Regions from separate parts of the Homo sapiens genome. Here region 1 is linked to region 2. The links are contacts of gene promoters, found by promoter capture Hi-C in human tissues and cell types (Jung and others, 2019). All regions are on one chromosome and are shown on one strand. The core of a region is centred on a gene start or on the middle of the fragment in contact, and the rest is flanking DNA. Distances in the headings are between cores, read along the strand shown.

Evidence for each region. The method cuts DNA at HindIII sites, captures the fragments that hold promoters and counts their contacts. A contact is called where the count stands out against the background at its distance.
Region 1: a fragment that was not itself captured here is called in contact with the fragment with the promoter of WNT5A in region 2 in 1 of the 25 tissues and cell types used here (IMR-90 fibroblasts).

What each region holds. Positions count from the first base shown.
Region 1 is chr3:55,632,704-55,639,080 of GRCh38, forward strand. All of the region lies in intron 17 of ERC2 (ELKS/RAB6-interacting/CAST family member 2), which reads right to left. Among named protein-coding and RNA genes, the nearest start is that of ERC2-IT1, 24 kb to the right of the region's middle. The HindIII fragment of the contact is 3,265 bases long and covers 2,381-5,645 here.
Region 2 is chr3:55,482,991-55,488,918 of GRCh38, forward strand. It overlaps WNT5A (Wnt family member 5A), which reads right to left and starts at 4,316. Exons shown (of 5, transcript NM_003392.7): 1 at 3,990-4,316. The coding sequence starts at 3,995. WNT5A-AS1 (WNT5A antisense RNA 1) reads left to right here and starts at 4,628. Exons shown (of 2, transcript NR_046656.1): 1 at 4,628-4,889; 2 at 5,000-5,318. The HindIII fragment of the contact is 9,126 bases long and covers 1,507-5,928 here.

The sequences.
Region 1 (6,377 bases), core at 2,763-5,262, 150 kb after region 2:
AATATTTAGAGCTGGTAGGATTCTTGGGGATAATTTAGACCAATATCATCTCTCACCCCAATTAACACCAAGATCCTCAATATAATTCTGTGAAAGAAAGGAAGAGAAGATAGAAGGAGTGAAGAGAAGAAAGAAGAAAGAAAGGAAGTTGGTTAGTCAGCTAGCTGTTTCTGAGAGGCTAAAGGGTCCCAAATTAGTTTCGCCAGGACTAAACCACAAGTGTTCAAATTCCTAGTATGTGATCTTCCCATTTTATGACCTTGTCACTATTTTTTCCAGAGTACCCATTGTCCACCTGTCTATTTATCCATCTAATCAAGAGAAGCCTTATTGCCTATTATCTCCTAGGCATAGGGAAGTGCACACATGAGTAACCTCCCTCTTTGGTGGGCTTTTGTGAGCTCTAGGATAAGTAACCAATGTCTAGTACTGTGCCTGACCGATATCAGCACACAATAAATATTTGCTGAAAAGATGCAAGAAAGCACCCAGATAACATAATCCAGGGTAGAACATAAGGACCTAGGAACACCCCCAGCAACTGAAAGAGTACCTGACATAGAGAATGCATTCCATAATGTCTGCTGAATGAATGAGTGAGTGAATGAACAAACAGAATTGAGTCCAGCAAAACCTGCACTGTGGGCTTTAAGAACACTAGGCAGTAGGGTCTCTGGAGGGATGACTCCCTCACATGACCTTTTCTAGGGGGTCTAGGATTTTATAAAATAACTCTATATCCCTTCCCCACGAAGGTTCTGAAAAGGTGGAAAAACACTGAGTGGCATATCTGTCTCCCTCTACTGGGCTGTAAGCTTCTCGGGGACTGCTCCTTATTTCAAGGGCCTGGCATATAATAGATGTTTATTTAACAGGTATTGAGAAAGCAGATACATACATGAACACTCAATGGCCTTTCATTAATTCAGCAAATACTTATAGAGTGCCTGCTATTTGCAAACACTGGCCTAGACTCTGGAGCTGCAGCAGTGAGGATAATGGGTGAAATGTTTGCCTTTATGGAGCTTACATTCTGCTGAGTCCAGGAAGAGTGAATATATTTCTCCTTTCATATTTCATTCAAAGCAAAACTAAACCTTAAATGATTTCATCCTTCATTCTTTTTAATCAACACAAAGCTGACTGATGCACATCCCTCCAGTCCCCTTCGTTTCTCATCACAAAACACACCATGCCTGGGAGTCAAGGGTCCCGGGTGGGAAATGCCACATATTCTGCCCACCTCCCACATGGCCTCTATAGAGACTTCATTTGTGTTCCAAGATCAGGGGACTTGCCACTCCAAAGCAGCCCCTTCAGATGTGGTCAGTTTGTCAGCACATATCAAATGCAGCAGAGACCTCTGCATTAGGGCAGCTTAGCACAAAAGGGTCTGGTTCCCTCCTCTTCCTATGTATGTGGTTTTCAGGCAGCTCTGAAGGGGTGGTGAGGAATGCAGGTCACAGAATGCCCCAGACACGAAGACAGTTTATAAGAATCTGCCCATGCCATAAGTACTAGACAAAAGTTGAGTTTATTTTCCTTGAATATTACACTTTATGTATCCATGCATTCCCCCAGGATATCCAATGCACAGACTGCCTTGAAGCTACTTGGGATGTATGTAAACCATACATTCATGCTCCTACTATTTATTGGGACCAGCCTGCTCTATTTCTACGATCTTGGCCAAATTCTACCTATTGAATATTGTCAGTCCCGGCTGTAACATAATCCTGGCTGAGATTCACATGAAAGATGTAATCTTGACAAGCCATTTAGAATCTCTTCTAAAAAAACGTAAAAGCCAGCATTCTTCCAGAGGAATGAATCAGTCTGATAAAAATGTCTACGGGGGAAGCCTAATCAGTTCATACGAGAACCTGTCAGTAGAACCTCTACTTAGACTGTAAGATTAAACCATCTTCATAGTCATTAGAAGGAAGTGTGGTCCATTCGGCTAAGATGGTCTTCTCCTATTTCCAATTAGAAACTCTGGTTTGCATTTATCACATGGAGATGCTGGCAAAAGCTGTGTCTAGAATGAGCATTAAAAGGATAACGCAATCTCACTTTTGCTCACTAATAGTGGTTCATTTTTAACCTGTTAAAGCAGGAGGGCAACTCTTCCCTTTCCCATAGCACTTCAGAGTTCTCAAAGGGAAAACCTGTCTCACTTTATTATTTCTTTTTTTTTTTTGACGAGTCTCACTCTCTAGCCAGGCTGGAGTATGGTGGCACGATCTCGGCTTACTGCAACCTCCGCCTACTGGGTTCAAGCAATTATCCTGCCTCAGCCTCTTGAGTAGCTGGGACTACAGGTGCATGCCACCACACCCAGCTAATTTTTTATTTTTAGTAGAGACGGGGTTTCACCTTGTTGGCCAGGATGGTCTTGATCTCGTGACCTCGTGATCTGCCTGCCTGCCTCAGCCTACCAAAGTGCTGGGATTACAGGCGTGAGCCACCGTGCCCGGCCTATTATTTCTTTTTTCTACAAATCCTTTTTTTGACCTCTTATCCAGACAGTCATCTGCTGATTATTTTAAAGGTATGCGAATATTTAGACAAATCCTCCAAGATCTCTGTCAGGTTGGAACAGGAAATGCTTCCTGTCATTTTAATGTTTATAAACATTAGTGGTGAAATCATATCATTATGAGGGAAAACATTTTCAGATGATTTTTTTTCTTTCTTTTTTTTTTGTCTCTTTGTCTCGCTCTGTCACCCAGGCTGGAGTGCAGTGGCTCGATCTCAGCTCACTGCAACCTCTGCCTCCTAGGTTCAAGCAATTCTTGTACCTCAGCCTCCCAAGTAGCTGGGACTATAGACGTCCGCCACCACTCCTGGCTAATTTTTGCATTTGTAATAGAGACGGGGTTTTATCATGTTGGCCAAGCTGGTCTTGAACTCTTGGCCTCAAGTGATCCATCTGTCTTGGCCTCCCAAAGTGCTGGGATTACAGGTGTGAGCCACTGCGCCCAGCCTCAGATGATTTTCTGATATCATTTAAAGCAACTAGAGTTCAAGTTTAGAAACACGCATAATGAAGAATCATCTCAACCCAGCAGAGGCTCTCCCAAATAAGTGGCAACTTCACTCATCCATCACTTTAAATAGCAATCGTTCCCATCAGAGATTTTTTAATTTTTATTTTTATTTTATTTTATTTTATTTTATTTTGTTTTATTTTTTGAGATGGAGTCTCTCTGTCTCCTAGGCTGGAGTACAGTGGTGTGATCGGCTCACTGCAACCTCCGCCTCTGGGTTCAAGCTATTCTCCTGCCTCAGCCTCCCAAGTAGCTGGGATTACAGGACTGTGCCACCATGCCCGGCTAATTTTTATATCTTTAGTAGAGGCGGGGTTTCACCATACTGGCAAGGCTGGTCTTGAACTCCTGACCTCAGGTGATCCGCCCACCTCGGCCTCCCAAAGTGCTGGGATTACAGGCATGAGCCACTGCACCCAGCCTCCATCAGAGATTTATAAAAATGTATTTTCAACATTTTAATCTTTCTTCCTTTCTCACAGTAATCCATATTCACAGGGCAGAATAAGGACAAACATGGAACACACTGTCAAAGAGTAAGGCTGACAGTGCAGAGTCTGGAGACTAACAAGCCTGGTTCCAGTCCTTGTTCTGCTCCTTGCTGTTGTAACCTTGGGGAAATCATTCACGTTCCCTCAGCCTCCATTTCCCCACCTGCAAAATGGGGTAATAACATCATCGCCTCACACAGCTGTTATAAGATTGAGCACAGCACCTGGGACACTTTGTGGGCTTGGCACAGTGCATAGAGCACCTTAGATGATCAATAATTACATGTGTTCAATGAACAAATGAGTGCATCGATGACTGAATCTCTTCCTACCCAAACTATAATACACTAAATCAGGGGTCAGCAAACTTTTCCTGTAAGGAGCCAGCAAGTAAATATCTTAAGCTTTGCAGGCAATATGGTTTCTGTCGCAACTATTTACCTGTGTTGTGACATGAAACCAGCCACAGAAAATAAACGAAGAGGTGTGGCTGTGCTCCAACAAAACTTTATTTACAAAAACAGGCAGGGCACTGAATCTGGCCCGCAGCCCTACGGTTTGCAGACCTCTGTTCTAAAGGCCTACCTTGCTAATGACAAACCAGACCTGATTTGCAAAATAAGTGCTCAGTCATGACTTATAAGCCTAGTGTTAGACCAAATCACTCCAAGGGAAGCTAGGAGGCCATGAGAAGTCAGTCCCTCCTAGCTTCTCTCCAATCATTCACTGTGCCCTGTCACACACTTCCCGACCATTGCCAGGACCTGTTGTGGTCTCACAGGTGTGCCCGTTCACTCCTGTCTTCCTGTCCCTCTCCTGGGGACTGGCCCATCCAGTATAACAGCCTGTTGCACCCAGTTCCTCCTGGGATCAGGCCTGTGGCTGAGGCCCTGACAGGACAAAGGTCCTCCTGGAATGCTCCCCTTCTTTTCTTTCTCAAACCAATGATAGCACTCCTTTGTCCAAATCCTCAGAGTTGGGGATAGAAACTTTCTCATCTATGTCTAGGCAGAAAAATAGAAATGTAATTCCTTCTCATTCTCCCTTTCACCTGGAGAGTACAGAAACACACTGTGGAATATGGAAAGGCATGAACCAGAGCTGCTCAAAGGATGGGTGGGAGTGCGCTTAGGTAGCATCTCTACCTGCTGAGGACTCATCAGGTTCCAAGCACTGCCAGGGACCAGGCCCATGTGCAGAGGGAGAAGTGGAGTTCAGAAGGCATGAGGGGCTTGTGTGAAGGCACAGACTGGGAGCAGAGACTGGCATCCAGGCTGGGCTGACCGGGGTCTCCTCAACTCTAAAACCCAAGTTACTGCAAACTCTAAAATCCAAGTCTCTGCCCCTGGGTGCAAATGGCAGCTTGAATGCATTGAGTACTCACTGGAGCCAGCTTTCAAATGCAGTACAATTTGCAAGCATTTTACTTATTGATATGTTTAGTTTTTTTTGTTAACTCCCTACTAGACAATCAAGTCAAAAGAACCTGCTCTCTCTATCGAGCATCGTCACTGGCACACTGTAGGTGTTTATTACATATTTGTAGAATTTGTTAATAAAGAAAAATAATGTGAATACTAGATAGTAGTAGCTATCTACATGGGCTAAGAATTTGACATGCATTTTCTCACTGACCCCTCTGACTCAAGTTAGCTACTGTTATTTTTCCCATTTTATTGATGATAAAACTAAGGATCTGAAAGGTTAACACTTTTAGCCCAAGGTCAGAAAGCTAACAAATGGCAAAAGCAATAATTGAACCCAATTCTGTTAGGCTCTTAAGCCAGATTCCTCTTACTCCATTCATTTCTCCCCACACAATGATTTCCCTTGTCCCAAACCAGACAGTGAGCCCGCTGGCCCAGGGCCCCATTCCTCCCACAACAAAAAGTCATCTTTTCTCTTTCCCCCTGACCATGTTCATTCCTAGTGTCTGGAAACTGCCCTCACCTATAAAATCAGGATAATTTTCCATTGTCAACACACATCCCAACCTCCTCCATGGGGTTTTTGTGAGAATTAACCCCATTTGCAGCCATTAATTAAGCTGTTAAAAGCACAAGTAGCTTTTTCTCCATTTTTACATGGCTTCTCAAATGGTTAATGTCGAGTTCTTTCTTGGTGCAAGCACAAGGAGCTCATAACTTTTCAATGGATTATGAAAGTTATTCCCCGAGGGGCTCGGCAAAGCAGTCATCGTTGTGCATAGCTTTGGCATTACGTCAGTGAATTTAGTCCTTCCTGAGCTAATGGTGGTTCTTAATAATATTATTGGAATTATTATTACCTTCAATTAAAATGTTGGCCATGAATGACTTACTACTTCAGAGAGATTCCCCAAAGAGTCACGTTAGAGTCTGTAGTCTTTCTGCTAAAGGGCACCATAAGAACAGGAACCAGAGTCCTTGCCCATCCCCCAAGTAAATACATTAATTAATAAATACACAGCATTCAAATACTTTTATGTTGTTGGCTGGTTACCAGGTTTTAAATTGACTTCCTTAAGGGTGGATAGGGCTGGCTAATCACTACCACTTTGTTCTAAAAACTAAAAGGAAATCAGGAAAACTTTACGCATTGTTCTTTATTTCTACTCACCAAACTACATTAGAATAGTATTATTGGTACAGCTACAACCTTCACAGAATGACCTCCATCTTATCTTAGTGGAGATGGTGGACAGCACAGGGTTTGGTTTCAAAGACAATAAGATGAATGGTACCTGGTAAAAGCACTACCTATGACATCTCCCTTGACAATACCTGAGCGTTGAGAACACCCTATAGAAATGGCTTCAAAACCAGGCAAATTGCTCATTGGATTCAGGGTCGGTGAG
Region 2 (5,928 bases), core at 3,066-5,565:
CCGCGTGCACTTTCCAAGCTTCGCGGCGAGCGGGGCGCGTGGGGCGGGGCTCAAGCAGCAGAGAAATTGATAACAGATTCGGCGGATTACAGCGGATCTCTTTGTTAGAGCCGAAGCCACACAAACCGAACCCACTCCCAGCCCGAAGCCCCCAGGGAGAGTCCACCAGTTCCCAGAGCCCAGGCCAACTGAGAGCGGGCCCATCCGGTCACCAAGACTTGGGTCTCCCTGGCTCCAGGGTAGAGGTAGGCAGAGGGTGTCCCAAAGGGGGATCGGAAAGGAGAGCCTCACGAGTCGCATCTCCACTTAACCCCGCCGCTTGCCCGGAAACACCTTGGCCCTCTTCCCTCTTCAATCCCAGTGCAACCGAGAAAAGGCCCCACAAGTTTGAGACACTCAAAGAACTCACAGCGAACTCACACATACATCGGCTCTGTAGGGTAAAACATCCCCGCCTGTTTACCAAGAGATCAGATCCGAAAAGACAGTATGAAATGAGACCTCTGGGGAGACTGTCAACCCCAGGGGTAAAACAAAAATTCTGATCAGAAACTGAGTTTCCCAAAGAAGGGGCTAAATGTTTTCCAACACTTTCGGGGCTCAGGGAAGATGACTCTGTAAGGACACTGAGAATCTTCCTCGCGTGCCACGGGGAGGAGGACTGGGGGCGTTTGAGGGGCTCAGCGCACCAGAGGAGTGAGGTGGAGGAGGGCGTTCCCGCGTCCTCCTCTTCAATCCAGAGCAGCTCAACGACGTGGCTCCCTTTCTATGTATCCCTCAAAGCCTTCGCGTCGGATTAAAGGTGTTCTTGATCCTTCTTTACCAACCACGGTGCGGGCCAGGCGTGATGAGGGATGAGGGAGAGGAAACCTCAGTAGCAAAATTGTTCAGAGGACGTTCGGAGGGCGCGGGGAGCAGCCGGATGCACACCTAAAGTCTCGCAACACCCAACTCCTCCTCCGCAGGCAGTCCCTTAAGAGAATAGATAAAAAGGCCAAGCAAAGATCCTCTCCCCTCGGCCCCGGGGCACTGCCACATTCAGTCTAGGCATCCCCTTCTGCTAGACTCTCTACGTTTAGGCCCCAAGTTTCTGGGAGTGAAACGATGAGGGACGCCAAATAGGCGGAAGAAGCCCATTTGACCCAGGCTTATGGCAGCGAAGGGGAGGATGGGAAACTCCAAAAAGAATCTCCACTCTTGGTGGAAAAAGAAAGCTGTTTTCCCCACTCTGATCTCTCCCTAAAGCAAGGAGAGAGATGCAGAAACTAGCAGGAGAGCACTCAGTTGCAGCCAAAAACTTGGGACGTCCTGCCCTGGAGAATGCGGGGAGCGGCGCGAGGAGCTAAAGAATGGGCCGGCCCAGGCGGGTAGGAGGTCCGCTTTAGGGGAGCAGACAAAGGAGCCACTACTCCCTAAGCCTCACGCCTGGGCGCAAGGGTTGTGTCCACAGCAATATGTGTGTTGGCGCGCGCGGAGCGGGGTAGGGGAGGAGGGAATTGCCAGATAGAGAAGGCGGAGGTTACACCTTGAGCCAGAATCAGTATGACAAAAGAGAGCCGCCCAGGCCTCAACACTGACAGCAGGTTCCAGGTTCGGGTATAGAGAGGCCCCAGGGGAAGAACGGTCTGGCCTGGTTCTCCTCTGTTTCCTGCCCCCTCGTCCATCCCTTAGACTGGGCTTTCCAGGCCCCAGGATACACACACACACACACACACACACACACACACACACACACACACACACCACTCACACCTTCTCACATAGGATGTCTAGCCCTCTCGGCAGAGGATCAACTTTGTCCAGAGGTGGAGCAGAGTCCTTGGACAGAGGAAGAAAATGAAATGATAGTCCAACCCCCACTCTTTAAAGGTAGTTTCTCTCCCACTTTTTAATAGACGATTAAAGTGAGGCGAAAAGCGGGAAAGCAACACTTGTTCTCGATCATAGAGAGTTGGGAGGCAGCTGAGGCCAGACCCGAGGCCTCCTAGGGCGACACTCTCCTTCCCAAGCCCAGAAGAAGAGGTACCAACCCTGTGTCCAGCTGGCCGAGTCCCATTTGCTGGGCTGGACCCGTGGCCCCTTCCGTATTGCAGCGGCCGGCGGCGCAGCGAAACTGGTCCTCTGGGGGCCTCCGAGGGCCCCTGCTGGGAGAGTGGGGTCTGGTGGTCGGGAGGGATGAAGGGAGCAGGGGTGGGAGGGAGAGGGGAGCAGCTGCCCGCCCGCCCGCCCCAAGGAACCGAGGCTCGCAGGAGTCCTACCTCAAGGCGGCCAACAGGGGGCAGCCGGCACCGCACCGCGGGGAAGAAAAGGCCGCGGGGATGGCTCCGAGTTCTGCGCGCATAGTGCTAACCCCTTGAGCACCGGAGCGCACGGGGGAGGGGAGGAGAAGACAGGGGACTCTTGGGCCGGGCCTCCTGGGGAGGGTCTTCCGTTGAGAGGGTCGGGGGGTGGAGGAGACGAAGGCTACTACGTCCTGGACCCGAGAACAACTCCCCTACACACACAAACACACACGCACACACACGCAGCCAAGGATCCACACACTCGGACACACACACATTTGTCGGCCCGCGGTTCGCTGCGCACTCTCCGCATTGCCCCCTCGAAACTCCCCTGGCAGAGTCTGTCTAGAAACTAAATCTGGCTGGTTCGGCAGTGAATGTGCGAAGGTGGCTGGGGGGAGGGCAGGGGCTGAGGAGGTGCGACCTCACCGCAAGGCCCAAGTTACTTCCAAACAGCGAATTACCCATTTAAAGAGAGAAGAGAGAAAAGAGAGGCGAGAGAGGAGAAGGGGCCTCGATACCAGACAGGGATTAGAAAGTCAAACAGGGCCGTGGGGTCTCCAGACTTGAAGTTTTTTGTTGTTGTTTTTTTTAACTTTTTGGGGGGAAGAGGGGTTATTTGCTTCCAGGAAACATCTTAATTTCAATTCTAACCTTATTTTCTAAGAAACTTAAAATGGGAAAGACCAGAAAAATGGAAATAGGAATCGAAGCTTGGAGGACAGATAAGAAAAATTGTTTAGAAAATAAAAACTTATGTTGCAGGAAGAAACGTTAACTTTTCGTAAAAGTGAACTCTCAGTGACCCTCGGAGTGTGTGATTCGGCTTTAACATACAACTGACAATTAAAACAAACAAGAGTTCGCAAACTGGCCCCCGCCTGCTCTCCCAAAGCGGAGGCCCAAGTGTTTTCTAAAGGACAAGGCGGACTCCGCTCAGGGGGCCGGGGAGCGCTGTCCCGGAGTACGGGATTACAGCCACTACCACCACAACTCCCCGCCCCCACCACTGCTGCAAAGTGCCTGAGCTCACCCAGTGGCGGCTAATAATGCTAATAACGCGACCCCGCTCCCCGCGCCGGGGTGCGCGCTGGCCCCCCGCCAGGCACTCTTAAAGGCAAAGGGGCCTGAAGCGCTCGAGTTACTCGGCCAAGGCAAGCCTACAATCTGGCCTCCGTCGGTGCGGGGGGGTGTCGGGGAAGGTGTACGCCGCTCTGGAGTAGTTGGCCCCTAGTTCCTCTGCGGGTTCTCTCAACCAAGGAGTCCCTTTCCCCATCCCGAGCCCCGGCCACACACCGTCCCGGTGCCCGCGCAGTGGGCGCTTGGTAAATATTTGTTGAATTGAATCATTATCCTGTTACTGAAATATACATAGTAAATTACACTCGATGTTCTCAGAGCAAAAGGAAAGTCGTCAGTGAACCGCACTCAGTTTGTCTACTATCGCTCTTCCCCACTTTTTCTCAAAAATCAAAATTGTTTGCAGAACGGGTGGTGCGACCAGAAGTGATCTCCTGGGACACTGAGGCAGTGCGCCCGGCGTGGAGGGCGAAGGGGTAGGGGTTCCTGCCAGCGACGCTGGAGTTCCAGCTTCTTCAGGCGGTTGGGGAAATGGAGGGATAGGAAGAGGCGAAGGGAACTCAGTTAACTTCCAACAGGGGGTGGGGGGAAGTAAAGAAAAAAAGTGGCAGCGCACTGAACACCTACCTTCATGGCGAGGGGGAGGGGGCGCGGGGAGGAAGTCGCCACCCGAGCGAGCGCAGCCGAGGAATCCGAGCGGAGCGACCGGGTTAAGCCTGGGGGGACGGTCAGGAGCAGGGCTGCGGAGTCCTCCGGCGCGCGTCCGGCGGGCGCAGTGAACCGGAGCTGAAGCGGGCACTGGCGCCCGGGCCTGGACTCCCGAGTTGGGGCAGAGCTGGGATGCGCCCAGGAATGGAGGGGGCGCGGACGCGCGCGAGCCGGCAGCAAGGGCAGGGCCTGGTCGGGGCGCAACTAGGGAGCCGCCGGTCCGGCGAGGGCGCGCAGGCAACTGTTCCACGGAGAGGCGCTCCGTTTCCAACGTCCATCAGCGACGGCGGTAATTAGGGCTTTCCAACCCCAAATGTGGGCGTGATTGTGCAAAAGACCTTACGACAAATAATAATAAAAAGAAATTCTTCACAAGAGGGTGAAAAAAATGTACCACTACTCAACTGTGGCCCGGGGCGGGGGAAGGGGGGCGATCTGTGCGCCCAGGTGCCCCCAGTTCATTCACACCACAGATTCTGCAAACTCTTGGCGGCTCACGCCTCCTGATCTCCAGCTCCTCCTCTCTGGGTCTGTAGCCGAAACGTCTGCTTCCAGACGCTGATCCTGCAGCCGCGAGTTAGTGTGGACGTCTCTGTACACACACAGACACACACCCCAACACACACACCCCCGCTGCAGCTTTGGGGCCACAGAACAATCAGGCGCGCATGGCTTTTTCTCCGGGAGATGCCGCTGAAAACGCACAAGTCGCCATCTGAGCTGCAAGAGTCAGCCCCAAATTGTGTCCTTTCATTTTAGGGTTCGGCAAAAACGGGGAGCAAAATAGGTGAAAGTCGCCCCGGAACTTATTGCTGTGCGGTGAGCTGGAGGGGTGCGACTAACCCAGGGGAGACGCGGGCTCCCCCCCCCCACCACGTATCCCGTTCTTTCTCTCTTCGGGTTGATCTCTCTTTTCCCCGTTTTTCCAGGGCGAAGGGCGAAGAGCAGCGAGTGCACCGCGGGCGCGAGGCTGGGGAAGGGCGAGAGCTCGGAGCTCCGCGGCGGCGACTCAGCTCCGGCGGTCCATGGCCGGCGAAGCTGCCCACCTCCTCGTTTGGCGCCCGGGTCCGAGGGGCGGGAGAGCGGGCCGGCGGGAGGCGGGCGGTCCCGGGCACAACGGCGGCGGCGGAAGGGCTCGCTGGGCAGCTGCCGCACGGACCCCGGCTCTGGGCGGCGGAGGCGGCTCCGTGGAGCTCGCAGCAGATTTCCACGCGATCCTGTGCCCCGCAAACAGACTGACCGACCGCGGGGACGCGTCCCCCCCTCCCACCCCCCAGCCCTTCTGGCCAACTGCCTTACTCTCTCCCTCCCTCTCTCCAGACTCCTCTTTCCCCTGGTGTTCTCAGAAGGAAGAAAAAAAAAAAAAGAAAGAAAGAAAGAAAGAAAAAAGTTCTTTAAAGTTTCAGAACTAGGGGCGGCTGGAAAGAGAGAGGGAAGGGGGGGGAAGAAAGAAAAAACTCAACTTTGCTATGCGCATGCGTGGTGAGGCCGGCCTATGACAAACTCTGCAGGATTTTAAAGCCGTACTACGGGCTGGGGTGCCGGGAGGCGGGGTACACTCTCCTTGTCTCCCCTTCTCTAAGTTCCCCATCCCCCGCGGCATCTGCTGAAAGAGAGAGGTCCACTCCGCAGCCGCTGCCTGCCTGCCGCCTGGTTGTCTGCGCTCCTTCCAGAGCCACCGACCGGCGGGAGGCTGAACCCCAACTTCCCCGCCTGGACCCCTTGGCTCGCCCGCGTATCCCAGACCGCTCCCACTGGGGCTCCACGGAGACTGCTGCCTTGACATGGAACCTCATGGGGGACCTCCTCATTCTTACCTCTGGGGGAGGATACTTAAGCACTGGGGCTGATGGATAGG